2 separate regions of the Homo sapiens genome follow, and region 1 is linked to region 2. The links are contacts of gene promoters, found by promoter capture Hi-C in human tissues and cell types (Jung and others, 2019). All regions are on one chromosome and are shown on one strand. The core of a region is centred on a gene start or on the middle of the fragment in contact, and the rest is flanking DNA. Distances in the headings are between cores, read along the strand shown.

Evidence for each region. Contacts are between HindIII fragments. The study calls those that stand out against the background at their distance.
Region 1: a contact is called between the fragment with the promoter of CSRP3 here and a fragment that was not itself captured in region 2, in 1 of the 25 tissues and cell types used here (IMR-90 fibroblasts).

Annotation. Positions count from the first base shown.
Region 1 is chr11:19,198,769-19,203,404 of GRCh38, forward strand. It overlaps CSRP3 (cysteine and glycine rich protein 3), which reads right to left and starts at 3,215. Exons shown (of 6, transcript NM_003476.5): 1 at 3,186-3,215. All of the region lies in intron 1 of CSRP3-AS1 (CSRP3 and E2F8 antisense RNA 1), which reads left to right. The HindIII fragment of the contact is 17,209 bases long and covers 2,291-4,636 here.
Region 2 is chr11:19,540,957-19,545,627 of GRCh38, forward strand. It overlaps a transcript of NAV2 not described here. Among named protein-coding and RNA genes, the nearest start is that of NAV2-AS4, 19 kb to the left of the region's middle. The HindIII fragment of the contact is 3,031 bases long and covers 1,373-4,403 here.

The DNA of each region.
Region 1 (4,636 bases), core at 1,965-4,464, 340 kb before region 2:
GTTGAACACTGGGCAAGTTGCTCAAATTCTCTGACCCAGTGTCCTCAATGCATGTCCTCATGTAAAGACAATATGAGAAGGCTTGTCTGGGAAGGTTGTTTTCAGGTTAAAGAAGATAATAATAGCTAAGACACCATATAGAATTACTTAATACATAGCAGGAATTGAATAATTGTAGTTACTTGCATCATGACTATTATTGTTGTTATTACATTATCTCCAGTTTTCAAGTCTGTTCTTTTAGAACAAACAACTCACTCCCTGCTTGTTTTCCATGGCCCTTCTGGTTCAGACTGTGAATCAGCTTTGTTTTTCAGCCTTTGGAGTGTGCGGTGCCCCAGGACAGGTGTGCCCAGGTCGGGGTGAGAGTCGGTCCCCTTGCGTTGTTGGATTGGGTTGGAGGCAGCATGCCTAGCCAGGGGCCCTGTAGTCTGGGGAGCTCATGCCCTTCAGTTCTCGGTGTAGGACATTCAAGGTCAGTGGCTGCTTCCTCCTGAGCTTCTGAACCCAGATATATGACGTCCTCCGGCCAGAGGCCCTTTCACAGAGCCCAGGAAGAACAGGTTGCTCATTGCCAGCATGGAAATAAACCTGAGTGTTGGCTCTCAGCCCCTTTTAAACTCAGACATGGTAGACATACATTAAATGAAGGCTGTAGAACATGGGCATCTTACACCTTTTGTGAAATTATATCTGAAGCGTGGCCAGCTTTTACTTCCCAAAACTCACTCTTTGTTCTATTTTGACCTCTACAATTTATTTCTAAAGACCACATCATATCCCAGTTTACCTCCTGGCTCTGCCGCTTTCTCAGCCATGTGATGCTGGGCAATTCCTAAGCTTTCTAGAACTTTAGTTTCTTCCTCTGAAAAATGAGTTTTGCATAACTTTTTGTGACCCTTAAATAAGCTAGTACTCGTTCCATGCCTGCCTAGGCCATAAACGACCATCAAATCATGATCAACCCTTTCCCACAGTAAAGCTCAGAAAAGGCTCCATCCTCAATGCCCTTTAAGACCATTACTGTCTCCCTTCCTGCCATTCTTCACTGGGATGAATAACTGCAGTTTTTCACATTTGCAGGCATCACATTTCTCTTTGTGCATGAAGCCCAACCCTCTATACAGTATTTATTCACAGATATCTGAACAGCACACTTGTAACTGGAAATCTGTCTGCCTCAAGACTTGTATTTCCTGTGTGTTATATTCCTAGCCCTGGGTCTTTCCTCTTGTAAAACAAATTAATTATCTTCTAACTCCTGGTCAGCTTCTTACCCACTCTGACCTCTGGACTTTTATCAGCACGCTTGTACTTAGCAGGAAACCCCCCCAAAACCCACTGGGTTTGGCTGTATGCCTTTTCTCAACGTTCTCACATATTTGTACGGTTATATTAAACTTTACAAAAGTACTTTCCTATACTTTATCTCATTCAATTCTCACAAGTCCCTTTGATAGAGGTAGGCTACCCTTAGTTTTATTGTTCAGAAAATGGAAACTCAGATAAGTTAAGTGATATTCAGAGCTATAATTTGAACGGGCTCTATAACTGATTATCTTTATTTTCTTCTTGAATATCCCAGGATTTCTGAGTTTCTATTCTATCAAGATTCTGTCTCCACTTCCTCCAAGGGAATTTTGGCTATTTGCTGGCTGAATGCTGCTGCAGCTCCCTCTTCCTTCATTCCTCTCTTCCTCCCTTCCTCCCTCCCTCCTTCTCTCTTTCCTTCCCCCCTTCTCTCCTTCGAAGGAGGAGGCCCCTTGCCCTGTGTCTCCTGTTTCTGATGGATGACACGTGTGTCTGGGCTGCAGAGCACCTGTCTGCCTGAACCCCAGGGAGGACACAAAGCCCTGGGGCTCAGCTACACCTCCTGCCCAATAGCCTGGGCTCATTGCCACTGACCACAAACGACTGAGTTGTTCAGAAAGGGAACAAAGCCAAGTCATAAGACTCCCTCACATTTTCTGGATCATAAAGCAGTTCTACATGCATTGTGATGAATTGTATGTACCCAGCATTGAGATTTAATCCCAGATGTAAACTGAGGACACAGGCCATCCCCAATTTCCCACTCTTCGTGCTGTTCACTTATACCCTTCCCTGCATAGAGCTGCCTCTACCTCCCTCCAGCCCTGACATAGGAGATGGTCCATACATGCTTATTAAATTACATTGAATCGTATTGCAGAGACAAGGTTCCTCAGACCAGTAACTCAACTCCTCCTTCTTGGAGGAGTCACCACCTTGGCTCAGGAACAGGGCAGAAATTAGAGTCGGCAGCTTGGATCTTTCAGCAGCATTTCCACTCAGACCATTGCTTAAAACCTCTTCTTATTCTCAATCACACCTATGTCTGTCATTCACTGGGATATTTTAAAAAGTCCTTGACTAAAACCTAGAGGAAACAGTGGGAATCCTAACCACTGGATAAATTATCCTCCCATTTAATAGAGCTTTTAATATATTTCAACATAGCAATGTCTTTTTGGGGTCCAGTTTTGATTAATTTCAAAAGATTAAAAGCAAACTTGTTGCTGAATATCTTTGGGATACAAAAGTCTATTTAAAATCAACAAGCCCAAAATCTCAGTCATTCACCACGACCTTTTGAATAACACCATTCCAGGTAAATTGAGCATGGGAAAGCTGTCTTATATATTGCATCTAGTACAATCGCTTATCGCTTTGTATCTGTGCAGTACTTTACAGTTTGGAAAAAATGTCGCCAATTTGTATTGATCCTTGCAGAAGAGGAGACCAAGCCCCTGAGGGCAGGAACCTTCTCAAAGTCTGTCATCCATGAATTATATGGTGGTTGTAAGACGAGAAGGTCAGCAGACTTTCCATTATTTCCTCCCGCTTTCCAGTTGTTCCAACTAAGATGACAGGAAATGTAATTCCACCACGTAAGTAGTTTTATAATGAGGATAATTCTTTACTCATTTATCTGCCTATGAGGTCCCTTAAGCCCCCTAAATATTAACCATCCTTGCAGGAATTTTTTAATACCTGCTAGATCCACACCAGAGTCAAGTACAACTTGAGCCTCCTTGCACAGAACCAGAGAGGGTGCTGGCACTTGAGACGTAAAATGTGCTCTTACTCTATGGGACCCTTTATAGTCCAAACCAGCCACAGAACCAACCCACCTCCAGCTCAAATGTCTGCCTTGCTCCACTCACCTGCCTGTGTGGACTCCGTTCAGCTCAACTGAGTCTGAGGGGCTCTTGTCCTCTTTAAATATATGAAGGCTGTCACCAGCCTTGGCCTGCTGGGGGAAGGGCAGGAGGGAGGCCAAGGGAGAGGGTGAATGAGACGTGAGTAACACAACTGCTATCAGGGGCTGAAAATAGACTGTGACCAAAGCCCTGAGTTTTGTCTCCCCCAACCCCCCAGCCAGCTGTGAGCCTCTTGGAGAACCGAATCACTTGGGTTCTATTTGCACTGCCAATTGCTTATGGCACCAAGGGATCAATTTATGAAGTGTGTCATTTCTGATCAAGTGGTTGGAACAGGAACAAGAGCTAAGGGTTTAACATCAAAAATCATTTCTCCAGGCCCCCACCCCACTGACCTTCCTGGAAATCATTGCAGGGTACCTGCAAATGAGTCATGTGCCATATCTGGGAGCCTCTGGAACTTAGAGCCACAGGTCACCACACTCGTGAAGAGAACTCAGAGCTAAAAATAAGGGTGATGGGTGTCTGAAACGATACTTAGATAATCTCTTCAAAGAAGCTTGGGAGAAAAAAGGTTGGCACATCACTTGGGACCTGTCACTCCATCTATCCTAGGAAACGAAGTTTTCTCTAAAAAGTTTTGATTTACTTTGTTATTATCCTTTTCTATTTAAGAATTTGATACAGCAGTGCATATTTATCATCATCACATTATATTTATAACATCTTGATATGTCTCTGTAGACCCATATTTTCTTTGGAGGTCTAATTTTTCTTTGTCTGGAATTCACACCGTTTAAATTTGATCAAGCACCAGGGACTGATATAAATTATGGCATTGAAAAGCTGACAAGAGGTTCAGAGATGTGAAGACCAATTCTTCATGTTATAGATGAGGAAACTGAGGCACCAAGCCCCTTCCACTCATGTTGACCCGGATGTTGAGGTAAGGTACATGTAGAACCCAACCGGGAGGTTCATGATCCAGCCTTCACATCAGATATTAGCCCTTTGGTTACCTGCCCACAAAGCAATTGTTGAAGGATAGAATATTTCACTGTCAAGAAGGTTGCAGTAATTTCACAAAGACGGCCGTGGCATAGCCTCCTATGAGATATCCGTGGTCTGTGTTTTCACTAAATGGCATCTTCATCATAAAGACGAGGCAATCACGAGGATTTTAGAAAGTTAAAGCTAGAAAGGACTTTAGAAATCGTCTAGGATAGTGGCTTTTGTTTGTTTGTTTGTTTGTTTGTTTAGAGAAATGGTCCCGTTCTGTTGCCTAAGCTGGAGTACAGTGGCATGATCACAGCTCACTGCAGCCTCGATCTTTTGGGCTCAAGCAATCCTCCTGTCTCAGCCTCCTGAGTAGCTGGGACTATAGGCGCACACCAGCACGCCTGGCTAATTTTTTTGTAGGGATGTGGTTTCACCATTTTGCCTAGGCTGGTCTC
Region 2 (4,671 bases), core at 1,638-4,137:
GAAGAGAATACAAGAGAAAAGAAAAGAAAACAATTCTGAGAAATCCTGCAGGAAAGAATCCTGTTAATGTTGCTTAACTTGGTACTTCTCAAGTATTTGTCTTTTTAAATGTTTGCATAAAACACATTAGACTTTGTTAAATGCTAAACTATATTATTATGAGGAGGAGAGATGCTACCTAGAGGAAGTTATACATGTAATTGGTTCTTGCATTCACTGCTACTGGAACCAGAAGTGGAGGCAGATGAGTTGACCATTGCTCTGGATTTGGGGTGGTGGCAAGGGAATCATAGCAACAGCACATGGCTCCATCTTCCGGCATCTACTATCCCACCCTTTCTACCAAAAATGTGACCTGCTTTCCCATGGCAGGGAGAAGACAAATTGTTCTAGAAGACAGGAAAGGAGAGACAGAATGGCTGTGTTGAAATGATTGTCCTGGGATGGAGCGAAATTTAGGAAGTGAGAGTTTTAATATAGATGAAGGCGTTGGGCCATGTGGCCCATCTTTGGGAACTGCCAGCCGATGGTTGGCAAATGACAACCCATGTGACTCTGGCTGTCTCTGGGGCCTTCTACAGGAGCAGGCTGAGGCCAGGACTCCTCCACTGTGCCTGTGGTCTCCTCCTCCCACACAGGGGATGTACTCACAGCTGAGGCCCCTTATCTTTTTGACCCACTTGAGAGAAGGGACAGGGCCTCGGGCATCAGGCAGAGCATAGGCCCAGGCTGATGTGGGACATGCCACATGCCAAAATGACATGTCATGGGGATTTGTGGGCCTCGCTGGAGCCATTTCCTCCAGGGGGTCATTTTATTTAGTTCCAATTGGACCCTGTGATTGGTCTCAGCCCTGGGCCACCTGGTGTCCTGGCTCCATATGGCAATGACTAGGAAGATGCCATTTTTCAATTGAAATATGCCTTGCCTTACTGTGGATCAGTCTGTAATTGCCTTTGGCTGGAAAGGGGCTTTGATTTTTAAAACTAAGCTAGAAAGTAATTTTTCCACTTTTGATTTGCTGCACTGATGAGTCAGTGTCTTCTCTACTAATTCACACTGAGAGTCACAGCACGGAAAAGACAGTTAGAGTCTTAGAGGTCGGCAAAGCCCACCATTGACCTCATATGGGAATCCCTTCCACCCACCCTTAACAGATGGTCTTTTAGCCTCTGGCCCAGCACAGCCACAGACGGGGAGCTCACTCTCTCACTGTGCAGACCTGACTGCTGTTGTCCAATTCTTGGCAAGTTTGATCCCATATGGAGCTAATAATGGGTACCCTTTAAGGAACACTCACCACCTGCCAGACACTATGCTAGGCATCTTCCATGCCTATCTTATTTAATCTTCATAATAACCCTCTAGGGTAGATACTATAATACGATTATCCCCATTTCTCAGAATGAGTGAAACAAGTCATAGAGGGTTTAAGGAATTTGTTCATGGCCCCAAGGCAGTAAATGATGGAGTCAGTGAATTGAGGAAGGATCACTCCAGAGCCCGAGCTCTTAAGCACTTTGCTCCGCTGCCCAGAGTAAGAATAGCTAACATTTGTGGAGTATTTACTAGGGGTCAGGTTCTATACTGAGGGGTTCCATATATACTGTCTCACTTCATTGTAACAAGTCATGAAGTAGATTTTATTATGCTCATTTTAGAGATGAGGACCCCAAATGTCCAGAGGTTTTAATTCATCGAAGGTCATAAGCAGAGCTGTTACTCTAATCCAGGTCATTTTGACCCTAAACACATACTCAATTAATATCTCTAAGTGCTGCCTATAAAATATTCTACAGGTGAGAAAACTGAGATTCAGGAAACATGGAAGTTTGTCAAAGGTCTTGAGCTAGAAGGCAAGAGCCAGGAGGTCCGCCTGACTCAGACTGTGAGCACCACCTTGCTCTCCCCTTCACCTGAAACCCTCCCCTTCCTGGGTACCTCTCCTGCCACCAGGACCACAGAGGAGAAGGCAGGTTCCCTGATCAGGGATGAAGCCCGTTTCCCTTTAATAAGGTTTCCATGTCACTGGTTGAGCATGGGTCCAATCACCTAAGTGTGAGAACTGCCTGATTAGAGAAAGTTTATTATCTTTTCCAAATTCTGAGATTCTAAGAGTTCCTTCACCCATCCTTGGTCATCTTTAAGATAGGGCCATAAAAAGCAATATAAATTTGAAGGTCAGAAAGCCCTGGGTTCAAATCCCTGCTCTGCCATTTCCGATATGGGTGACTTAAAGCAAATTGATTAACCTCGTAGAAGCTCAGTTTCCTTGTCTATAAAGTAGAGATAAAAATGACTGCCTGGTATGGTAGTCAGTCTTCCTCTTTTGGAAGTTTGGGCTTCCTGCTGAAAGTCCTTTCAAAATATATCTATGAAGTTCCAGGAACTAGGGCTTGAACTGCCGATGATGCATGCTGTCAACCAACGTAACAGTAATCATTGCTATCATCAGTGAAATGTCACTGGGCTTTTTGTGTTTGTTTGCGTGGTCCTGTATCTATTCTTTTTCTTTTATCGCACCAAATCTCACCTTATCTCACTGACACAGCCTCTCCTCCTCATCTTCCTCTTTTGGGAAAGGTTCAGAATGGCATAGGGATTAAAAAACGTTCAATTTGGAGTCAGATATTTTGCCATTTTTGACTGTGTAACTTTATCCAAGATAGCTACCCTCTATGAGCTTGCCTTCCTTTGTCTATAAAAAAGGAGTGAAAATACCTACCTCCCTTCATAGGATCATTCAGCGTTAAATGAGATACTCATAGCAGGTGTTCAAAAGTTACTTCTCTTTCTCTTCCTTGTCCTCTCTTGTCTCACTTGGCTAACTCTGAGGCTGACCTCTCAACTGCATCAAATACTATTTGTCACCTCCTCCTCTTCCTCTTATAGCTCCCCAAGTATTTCTAGAGTGGCCATGCTCTCGGTTTGAGCTGAGGATAATCCATCAATTATTACAATGAATGTGAGTGTACTCTGTAGCCTTGTGAAAAGTATTGTTCAAATGTAAACTACTTATTTTGCTCTTCCTGGCCAAAGCTTGTGAATATATACTTACTACAACATGATTTGCACTGTATTCATTCAAATAATATTATTGAGCATCTTATGGGTTTGTGGTTCTCAATACTGTGCCTGGCACATAGTAAGTGCTCAATACATCTTGGATTGCTAAAAAATTATTGAGTGTATGAATGAATATTTCTTTGAAATAGCAATTATGTTGGCAGAGTTGATTTCCATCAAAACCGAGTGATTGAAGGAGAATGAGAACGAGATGGACTTTGGTCCTAGACTCTCTTGACTCTAATCTCGAGTTCTTTTCACTATCAGTCTTTCCAATACCAGCAGAATGGGATCCGTGCTGTAAGACAGACACAGGTTTCAAGGGTGACAGTGTAGACTGAGGCCACCATAAAGATCAGGTTCAGATCTCACATCCCCAAGGCTTACTGGTCAGTACCCCAGTTAGTAGAGTTTGGCATCTAGAGATCTGAGTAGGCATCAAGGCCTGAGCTTCTGCCTCCTGGATTCTGCCTCCCTGGAGTCCATATTCCACACATGGGAAATTAAAGTCAGGCAGGGATTAGCTGGGCCACATTCCACCCTTGAACACCTGTCTATGTTGACAGCTTGGAGTGGGGTACAGAATTCATCCTCTGGAAGAAACAGGGTGTACTGTGCAGCCTCTTCCCAGTTCCTCACCCCCTGGCTGCTTACCTGGCCACCTTATCCTGCTAGACACAGTGCACAGAAAGCATGGAAAGTAAGAAGGGAATTAGGGACATAAAAGAACGAGCCCCAGCTTTGGAGCCAGCTAGGGCTGGAGGTGAGCCTGCCCCTGCCACTTCCTAGCTGTTAAGATTGCTGGCAAATCTTCCAAACTGTCTGTCAGCCTAATTTCCTTGAGAGAGAGTAAAGCAAAGGAATGAGAATCGTAGTACCTGCCTCACCAAAATGTTGCTAGGGTGTCTGTGTCTTGGCTCCACACATGTGGAACACCTAGCAGATGGTTGGGCCAAAGTAAATGTCCCACTCTCCACCTCTCTACCCTGCTTTCAGCCCCAGAGACAGCAAAGCAAATGTACATTGGAGTTGAGCAGTTGCCTTAATCAAAGACCCTTTCCCTCCCATGAAGTCGTTCTGGCCTTGCAGTTCTCATTCATTTCTTGTGTACCTGCTGCACACCACAGCCCTCCACGCCAGTGTGGGCATTTATTATTGGGCGCTCACAGGAGGGTCAAGCTGCTACCCAGACCTAACTGGCAACTGCTGTAAGCTTCATAAGGTGGGCAGATTTGTGTCTCCATACTGCCTCCAGGGGAGCTTGGTTTGGGCCGGGCAGCCAACTGAATTATTCATGACATGTGTGCTCTCTGTCTTTTTTCCTCCAAGCCTCTTTGGTTTAGAGACTGATATTTGTCTGCATGTGGCCTCTAAGGACGGCTCCCTTCCTGTGGGAAGACTGCCAGGTGGATGGTGAAAGGAAGAAGGTATGGGGCAGTGGTGTCCCTTTGAGGTGGAAAGCTTGCCTGGAAGCCTCATTCACTTAAAGGGCTGGCATGGCGCAAATGGGAGTCAGTTTCTCATCAGACAATGTAGCTTGGAGTGAGTAGACTGAATCAGGAAAGTGGTAGTGCATTTTATTTCCTAGAGGGTACTAAACACTTG